Linked DNA regions of Homo sapiens: all the other regions are linked to region 2. The links are contacts of gene promoters, found by promoter capture Hi-C in human tissues and cell types (Jung and others, 2019). All regions are on one chromosome and are shown on one strand. Each heading gives the region's core, a stretch centred on a gene start or on the middle of the fragment in contact. The rest is flanking DNA. Distances are from core to core; before and after follow the strand shown.

What was found. Contacts are between HindIII fragments. The study calls those that stand out against the background at their distance.
Region 1: a fragment that was not itself captured here is called in contact with the fragment with the promoter of ZNF362 in region 2 in 3 of the 25 tissues and cell types used here (adrenal gland, spleen and stomach).
Region 3: a contact is called between a fragment that was not itself captured here and the fragment with the promoter of ZNF362 in region 2, in 2 of the 25 tissues and cell types used here (heart left ventricle and neural progenitor cells).

The regions. Positions count from the first base shown.
Region 1 is chr1:33,210,647-33,213,346 of GRCh38, reverse strand. It overlaps a transcript of ZNF362 not described here. Among named protein-coding and RNA genes, the nearest start is that of TRIM62, 30 kb to the right of the region's middle. RefSeq lists a silencer at 1,207-1,266 and an enhancer at 2,041-2,210. The HindIII fragment of the contact is 3,403 bases long and covers 1-2,700 here.
Region 2 is chr1:33,255,114-33,257,813 of GRCh38, reverse strand. It overlaps ZNF362 (zinc finger protein 362), which reads right to left and starts at 1,322. Exons shown (of 9, transcript NM_152493.3): 1 at 1,160-1,322. RefSeq lists an enhancer at 572-866 and silencers at 1,332-1,391, 1,834-1,933. The HindIII fragment of the contact is 13,308 bases long and covers 1-2,700 here.
Region 3 is chr1:33,299,368-33,302,067 of GRCh38, reverse strand. ZNF362 (zinc finger protein 362) reads right to left here. Exons shown (of 9, transcript NM_152493.3): 9 at 1,349-2,700. Among named protein-coding and RNA genes, the nearest start is that of A3GALT2, 20 kb to the left of the region's middle. RefSeq lists an enhancer at 1,736-2,685. The HindIII fragment of the contact is 5,609 bases long and covers 1-2,700 here.

The DNA of each region.
Region 1 (2,700 bases), core at 2-2,501, 44 kb after region 2:
TATATATGTATGCATCTGTGAAATCATCGCCGTGATTAAGAAAATGAACTTCAGGCTGGGCGTAGTGGCTCATGCCTGTAATCTCAGCACTTTAGGAGGCTGAGGTGGGTGGGTCACCTGAGGTCAGGAGCCAAGATCGCACCACTGCACTCCAGCCTGGGCAACAGAGTGAGACTCCATCTAAAACAAAACAAAACAAAATTCTAAAAATTTATATGAATAGTATAATACATACATACTCTTTTTGTCCATCTTCTTTCACTCAGCACAATTATTTTGAGATTCAGCCATGCTATTGCACATATAAAATTTATCCTTTTTATTGCCAAGGAGCATTTCCATTGTATGGATGTGCCACATTTAGTTTATTCATTCATCCATGGATTTGGGACATTAGGGTTACTTCTAAATAAATTGTGACTATTATAAATAAGGCAGCAATAAACATTTGTGTACAAATCTTTGCATGCACGTACGCTTTCATTTCTCATATAGTTCGGCTGTCTTCTCCAAATCTCATGTTAAAATGTAATTCCCAGTGTTGGAGGTGAGGCCTGAAGGTCAGAGATGTTTGGATCATGGGGGAGTATCCCTCATGAATGGCTTAGTGCCATTCCCTTGGTGATGAATGAGTTCACACAAGATCTGGTTGTTTAAAAGTGTGTGGCACCTCCCCACTGCACCCCACCACCTCTCTGTCTTACTCCTGCTCTTGCCATGTGATAGGCCAGCTTCCCCTTTGTCTTCTGCCATGATTGTAAGTTTCCTGAGGCCTCACCAGAAGCCAAGCAGATGCCTAGCGCCATGCTTCCTGTACAGCCTGCAGTACTGTGACTCAATTAAACCACTTTTCTTTATAAACTATCCAGTCTTGGGTACTTCTTTACAGCAACACACCAATAGCCTAATATAGGTACCTAGAAGTGGAATGGCTCAATATACGTTAGAGATACCTAGGTAAATTATTGAGAAACTGCCAAACTGTTTTCCAAAATGGCTATCATACTAGTCATTCTCACACTGCTATGAAGAAATACCTGGGACTGGATAATTTATAAAGAAAAGAGGTTTAAGTGGCTCACAGTACTGCAAGCTGTATAGGAAGCTTGGCTGCATCTGCTTCTGGGGAGGCCTCAGGGAGCTTTGACTCATAGTGGAAGGTGAAGGGGAAGCAGGCATGTCTTACATGGTTGAAGCAGGAGGAACAGAGAGAAGGCGGCGGTGCTACACACTTTTTAACAACCAGATCTCATGAGAATTCACTATCGTAATGACAGCTCCAAGGGAGATGATGTTAACCATGAGAAACAGTCCCTGTGATCCAATCACTTCCCACCAGATCCCACCTCCAACACCAGGGATTACAATTGAATGTGAGATTTGGGTGGGGACACAGATGAAAACCATCTCAGATGTACATTTGATATTCCCACCAGCAATATAAGAATTATCAAGACCAAATCTCCTTTGGATTGGTGTACCTGAAAGTGATGGGGAGAATGGAACCAAGTTAGAAAACATTCTTCAGGATACTATCCAGGAGAACATCCCCAACCTAGCAAGGCAGGCCAACATTCAAATTCAAGAAATGCAGAGAACACCACAAAGATTACTCCTTGAGAAGAGCAACCCCGAGACACATAAATGTCAGATTCACCAAGGTTGAAATGAAGGAAAAAATGCTAAGGGCAGCCAGAGAGAAAGGGCGGGTTACCCACAAAGGGAAGCCCATCAGACTAGCAGATCTCTCTGCAGAAACCCTGCAAACCAGAAGAGAGTGGGGGTCAATATTCAACATTCTTAAAGAAAAGAATTTTCAACCCAGAATTTCATATCCAGCCAAAATAAGCTTCATAAATGAAGGAGAAATAAAATCCCTTACAGTCAACCAAATGCTGAGAGATTTTGTCACCACCAGGCCTGCCTTACAAGAGCTCCTGAAGGAAGCACTAAACATGGACATGAACAAACGGTACCAGCCACTGCAAAAACATGCCAAATTGTAGAGACCATCAACGCTATGAAGAAACTGCATCAATTAAACAGTGAAATAACCAGCTAGCATCATAATGGCAGGATCAAATTCACACATAACAATATTAACCTTAAATGTAGGCCTGGCGCGGTGGCTCACATCTGTAATCCCAACACTTTGGGAGGCTAGCGAGGGCAGATCACAAGGTCAGGAGATTGAGACCAACCTGGCTAACATGGTGAAACCCCATCTCTACTAAAAATACAAAAAATTAGCCAGGCGTGGTGGTGGGCACCTGTAGTCCCAGCTACTCGGGAGGCTGAGGCAGGAGAATGGTGTGAACCTAGGAGGCAGAGCTTGCAGTGAGCCAGGATTGTGCCACTGCACTCCAGCCTGGGTGACAGAGTGAGTCTCTGTCTCAAAAAAAAAAAAAAATTAACCTTAAATGTAAATGAGCTAAATGTCCCAATTAAAAGACACAGACTGGCAAATTGGATAACGGGTTAAGACCCATCGGTGTGCTGTATTCAGGAGACACATCTCACATGCAAAGACACACATAGGCTCAAAATAAAGGGATGGAGGAAGGTCTACCAAGCAAGTGGAAAGAAAAAAAAGTAGGGGTTGCAATCCTGGGTCTCTGATAAAACAGACTTTAAACCAACAAAGATCAAAAGAGATGAAGAAGGCCATTACATAGTGGTAAAGGGATCAATTCACCAAGA
Region 2 (2,700 bases), core at 73-2,572:
ACTGCCACACACACAGCTCCCGAAGGTTCCACACTGCTCGAGGGCAGGGTGGTGGGACAGCAGGATTATTTCCTCATGCCAGGGGTCTTTGCTGGAAATCCTGGACCCATTCTGAGCCCCTCTTGCCGGCCCTCTCCCCCAGATCTGAGGATCTAGCTCCTTACAATGCCATGTTTATAGAGCCCCTTCCAAATAAATGTTTCCCAGTTCCCCCAAAACTCCCATCCTCAACCCTCCACATCCGCCCCCCCACCCCCATCCCGCGCAGCTCTGAGGAAACCGGCAGTTAACTTTTCCCAAAAATCCTGCAAAGGCAGCTGGCTGGGGGAGAAATGGGCCTCGAGATCCTTTCGCGGCATTTCACCGCCTTCCAAAAAAAAAAAAAAAGAAAGAAAGAAAGAAAGAGAAGCAAAGCAAAGCAAACTTTCGGAGTTAACTTTAAATTCCCAGCCCTCCCCCCTCAAATCGCCCGGCAGCTTCCCTTTTTTTTTTTCTTTAAAGTGCAATTGCATTGTGTCTCACCTCCCCGAAAGGCTCGCGGCTCTCGCCAAAGAAAAGGAAAAAAGCCAACCCTTCGGGTGCCCCCTCTGCTTCCAGCCGCCTCTCCCACATTCTCAGACAGTTTTATTAAAATTTTCAGACAAAAGAAAAACAAAAATGGCAGCCTGGCTTATTTTTAAAACAGGACAGGGACGCCATATTCTGCAGATCTGCAAAAAAAGGGAGAAATCCGGCACTGGCTGCTCCACCGGGCCGGCTGCAAAGTGCGCGAACCGCGCCGTTTGCAATCCGTTTATTTGCATTATGCCCCATGAATCATTGTTTACCGGAGAATTGCAGCAGGGTTTGAATAGCCCGGCTTAAGAAAACACACACACACGCGCGCGCACACACACACACGCACACACACTCGGAGACCAGCCCCAGACACGCCGCGGGAGACACTTCCTACCCCGCGCGCCCCGCTGCCGCCGCCGCCGCCGCCGCTCTGGGCCGGGCCCGAGGCGCAGGCGGCCCCGGGCCCTCGGAGCGCCCCGGCCCGCGCTGACAGCGCCCGCGCCCCGGCCCGGCCCCCGCCCGCAACTCGGCGCAACTTTCCCGCGGGCAGGCGCCCGCCGCCGCTGGGCCCGCTCCCCGCGCGCCCCGGGCCCGCACGGACCTGGCTGTGCTGGCGGCGCCTCCGGGACGCGGCCGCAGCCCCGCGCCCGGCGGCCCGAGCAGGGCCGGGCTGGGGCTCCGGCACAGGCTCCGGGCTCGGGCTCCGGCTCTGGCTCGCTGCGGAGCCGCGCGCAAACCTTCCGGGTCGCCTGCTGTTCACTTCTGGGTTCTGCAAGCGCCGAGGCGGCGGCGGCGGCGGCGGCGGGAGGCTGGGTCTGCAGCGCCGCGCGGCCCCCAGTGCGCTCGGCGAGCCCCCGCGCCAGGCGCCCGGCTCCGGGGGGGCCGCGTCGGGCCCCCGCCTCTCCGGCTGCGCAGCCCGTCCGGCCCCGGGGGCTCCCGCGAGTGGGCAGCGCCGGGCGCTGGCGACTGCGCGAGAGGGGAGGGGGCCGGGCGGGGGGCGGGGGCGGGCCGCGCGCTGGGGCCCCCACTCGGGCCCCGGGGCCTCGTCTCGCGCTCGCCGTCGCCGCCGCCGCCGCCGCCGCCACCGCCTGGCAAAGTTGCGCTGCGCCCCCCGCCCGCGCCGCGCCGGAGGCAGAGCCACAAAGGAACTCCTCGCCCCCCTCCGCCCGCCTGAGCCGCGCGGGGAGGGCACCGGCGCCCGGCCCTAGGACAGCCCCTTCCCCAGCGCGGGGGCTCCCGGGGCCCCGGCGGCCGTGGCCATTGTCCTGCCCAGGCCCGGCGGCCGCCTCGCCACCCCACTCCTGGGTGATGGCAGGCTGGGGACTTGGGCCTGGCGGGCCACGGCCCTGACCAGGCCGAGCCCGCGCGGTGCCAGGCTGCCCCTGGGGGTCTCCCTCGAAGACGGCCGCCTGGAGGGGACCCCCAGGATGGACCCTCACCCCTGATAACGACCTGCTCAAAATCCAGGCCGATTTTTTTTTTAAGACGAGGACATAGGGGTGGGGAGTAGAAGTTTGCACAGGCCCAGCCACCCCTCCCTAGCCCTAGGCCGGATCCCCGACGGATGGGGCGGCCCGAAGCTGGCAGTGGCTCCTCTCGCAGAGTCTATCAGAGGTGGCACCGGCTGTCCCCCGGCTCCAGACCTCAGAGCCATCTGTGTGACTCCTCCTCCCGCCTCACCCTCCCCAGCCAATCAGTCACCAAGTCCTCCTGATTCGGCCTCCCGAGCTGTGTCAGCTTCCAAACTTACACTTCTACCTGAGGAGGCAGCCGGTTCCAGGATCCCTTCACCGGCTTAGATTTCTATGGCATCCACCACCCCCCGACCGCTGGGCCAGGATGGATCAGGGCTGGCCCTGCCCTCAGGGAGCGCACAGTCCCCCGGGAAGGGCACAGAGATAAACAATCATCTGCCAGCGTTTGTCCTCCAGGAAGCATTTCCAAATTCAGTAAATATTCATAGAGGACCTAGTAAACATCAACCACTGTTTTTAATAGCTGGTTGGCTGGAGCACAGCTATTAAAAAACTGGATAATGCCCCTGCCCTCACGAAGATTCTAGTCCAGCACAGGATGGCAAACACTGTGAGCAACTCGAAGACAGGGCCCATAGGGACTGCTTGTTCTCAATCCCCAAGCACA
Region 3 (2,700 bases), core at 99-2,598, 44 kb before region 2:
CCCAGTCTGGAGTGCAAATGGTGCAATCACGGCTCCCCACAGCCCTGACCTCCCAGGCTCAAGCAGTCCTCTCACCTCAGCCTCTCAAGTAGCTGGGACTACAGGCGCATGCACCACCACACCTGGCCAATTTTCTTTTTCTTTTTTTTTGTGGAGACAAGGTCTCCCTATGTTGCCCAGGCTGGTCTCAAACTCCTGGACTCAAGTGATCCTCCTGCCTTGGCCTCCCAAAGTGCTGAGATTACAAGCATGAGCCACCAAGCCTGGCCTCACCCTCTCTTGCTCTTCTGCCTTCTGGCATGAGATGACATGGCATGAAGGCCCTCACCAGATGCTGGCACCATGCTCTTGGACTTCCCAACCTCCAGAACTATGAGACTGGAATTTATCATGAACAGAATGAAATTTCTGCTCATTATAAATTACTGAGTTTGTGATATCCTGTTATAGCAGCATAAAACAGATGAAGACACTGAGGCTTTTGTCAGAGAGACAAGAGGCTTGATTGCTGGAACCCTGGGGACTGAGAGACTAGAGCTGCTGACCCCACAGGCGCCTCAGGCTGAAGCTGACTCAGAACAGAGTGGAGAGCTGGAGACACATCCTTTGAGCCCTGAAGCTGGCCTGACCACTGTCCTGTTACATAAGCCAATACACCCTTGTTTGGATTGGACTTTCTATCACTTGCAGCAAAGTCTTGACACATGAGGACTGTGAGGACTCAGGGAAACGAGTTCGAACCAATGATGACCTCCATGGTAGATGACCTCCATGATGACCTTCCATGGACAGTGGAAGCACTGTCCCCCTCACAGTGCTTCCACAGGGCCAGACATGATAAGCTTTTGGGGATTTTATTACTAAATTTCCTTCCTAGGCAGTCAAAACATTGACTCCTATGGGGAAAAAACAATGTATGACAAGGATGTCTTGGACTCCCCCTCCAATCACTAGAATCACTTCCACAAATCAGGCACTCATGATGGACCCCCCCCCCACATAGGTGGGGTGCCCCCTCAGGGAGCAGTGGAAGTGAGACTTATTGGTGGACCTAGTATATCCAAGAAGGCTCCAGAACTAGGCAATGCTGGGTCAGTTTATGTCACTGCCACTATACTGCAGCATGATCCTTAGCAAAGGGCCTCTCTTGGTTTGCTGCCCACTTCTTAGGGAGTTGTGAGGCAATCAACATAAAGCACTCAGTTCAGCACCTGGAGTGAGGCCAGCCCACAGTGAGAGGCCACTTTCTTCCTTCTCCAAGTCTGGGGGGCGGGGGAGGGGAGAGGAGCAATGGAAAGGTGCCCCCCAGCCCTGCCCTCGCACAGAGCACGCCAAACACCACCGCCACCCGGGTGCAGGTACAGTTTATTCTTCACAACAGAGAAATACAAAGAGCAGAGGGTTTGTAATTCCTTTGTTTCTTGCCCCCTTTAGTGTTTTCCCCCCACATTTGATTTTCATTTGCTCCCCACTCCCTTTTTTAAATAGAATGCAAACTACCTTCCTGAAGTGTCTGAGGGGCACCTGCCCTCACCTCCCTGCCTCCAAGATGCAGACTGAGAAGCCAACAGACTGTTTTTTCTTTTTTAATAAGGTAACTAGTTCTAAATATGGTGGCCTGGAGGTCCCATAGAAAAAGCAAAGGGGTGTTAACAGTATGTATAACAGCGTATTTACAGGGAGTAACATGCGGACAAAAAGCTACAATACTGAGTATCAGACGACGCAAGTCAAACAAAGGGCCGGGGGTGGGGGCAGAGAACCCCATGGGCAAAGAAACCCCAGGAAACGTTAAACTGGTAAATCAATGGCGAGTTAAGGCTTAAAAAGTGTATAAAAATAACACAGTTAATATTCAAAACGGAACTCCAGATACAGAATATATAGATGAGTTTCTGTCTAGTTTTCTTTTTTTTCCCGGGGGGATGTAGGGGGCTTCTCTGGGCTCTGTACATGGTTCCTATATACACCGACACGCATGGCTTTCAGATTGGGGTGTGTCTGTGGGGGCTGGGGGCAGGGTCTGCTCCTGGGACCTGCCTCCCCGGGGATCCCTTCCCTGCTGAGGGGCCTAGGGCCTCGGCTGGGGATTCCCACTCCATGGCAGGGAAGACAAATAACCCCTCCCTGGGCACTGCCCCCATCTGGAGGAAATTCTGGAGGGAGGTCCCAGATCCAGGCCCACTCCCTCCCCATCCCCCTGCCCACAGTCTGGGATGGTGGGAGAGGTAGCCGAAAGGTTTCCTGGCCAGCACCGAGGTAGACTGGGGTGGTCTTCAGGGCAGCAGGGGAGGGCCAGGTCTTACCCAGCCCATCCCCACCCCATTTCCCTGGGCCCGCCACCCAGCCCATCACTGCACCCTTTGGTCCTGTGGATCTCCCACCCCTCTCGTTTCTGCCTCCTGAAGCTGCCGCACCCCTCTGCTCAGTGATGCCCAGGGCACAGCTCGAGAGGTGCGAGCCAGGCACTCAGGGGCGAAGGGCTCACTCCGGCTGCTTCCTGCCCCTCCCACCTGGGGGTCCCCTTTGCAGTCCAGAAACCTAGGCCCGAGCCTTCCCTCAAGACCTGAGGCCATGGCAAGAGAAGGTCCCACATTGCCCTCTGGTTCTCTGCGTCCATCTGTCCGATTCTTTAAATTTCTCGGTCTTAGCAGCACCAACTTCCTGGCCAATAAATATCTTTTCTGTTATTTCCAAAAC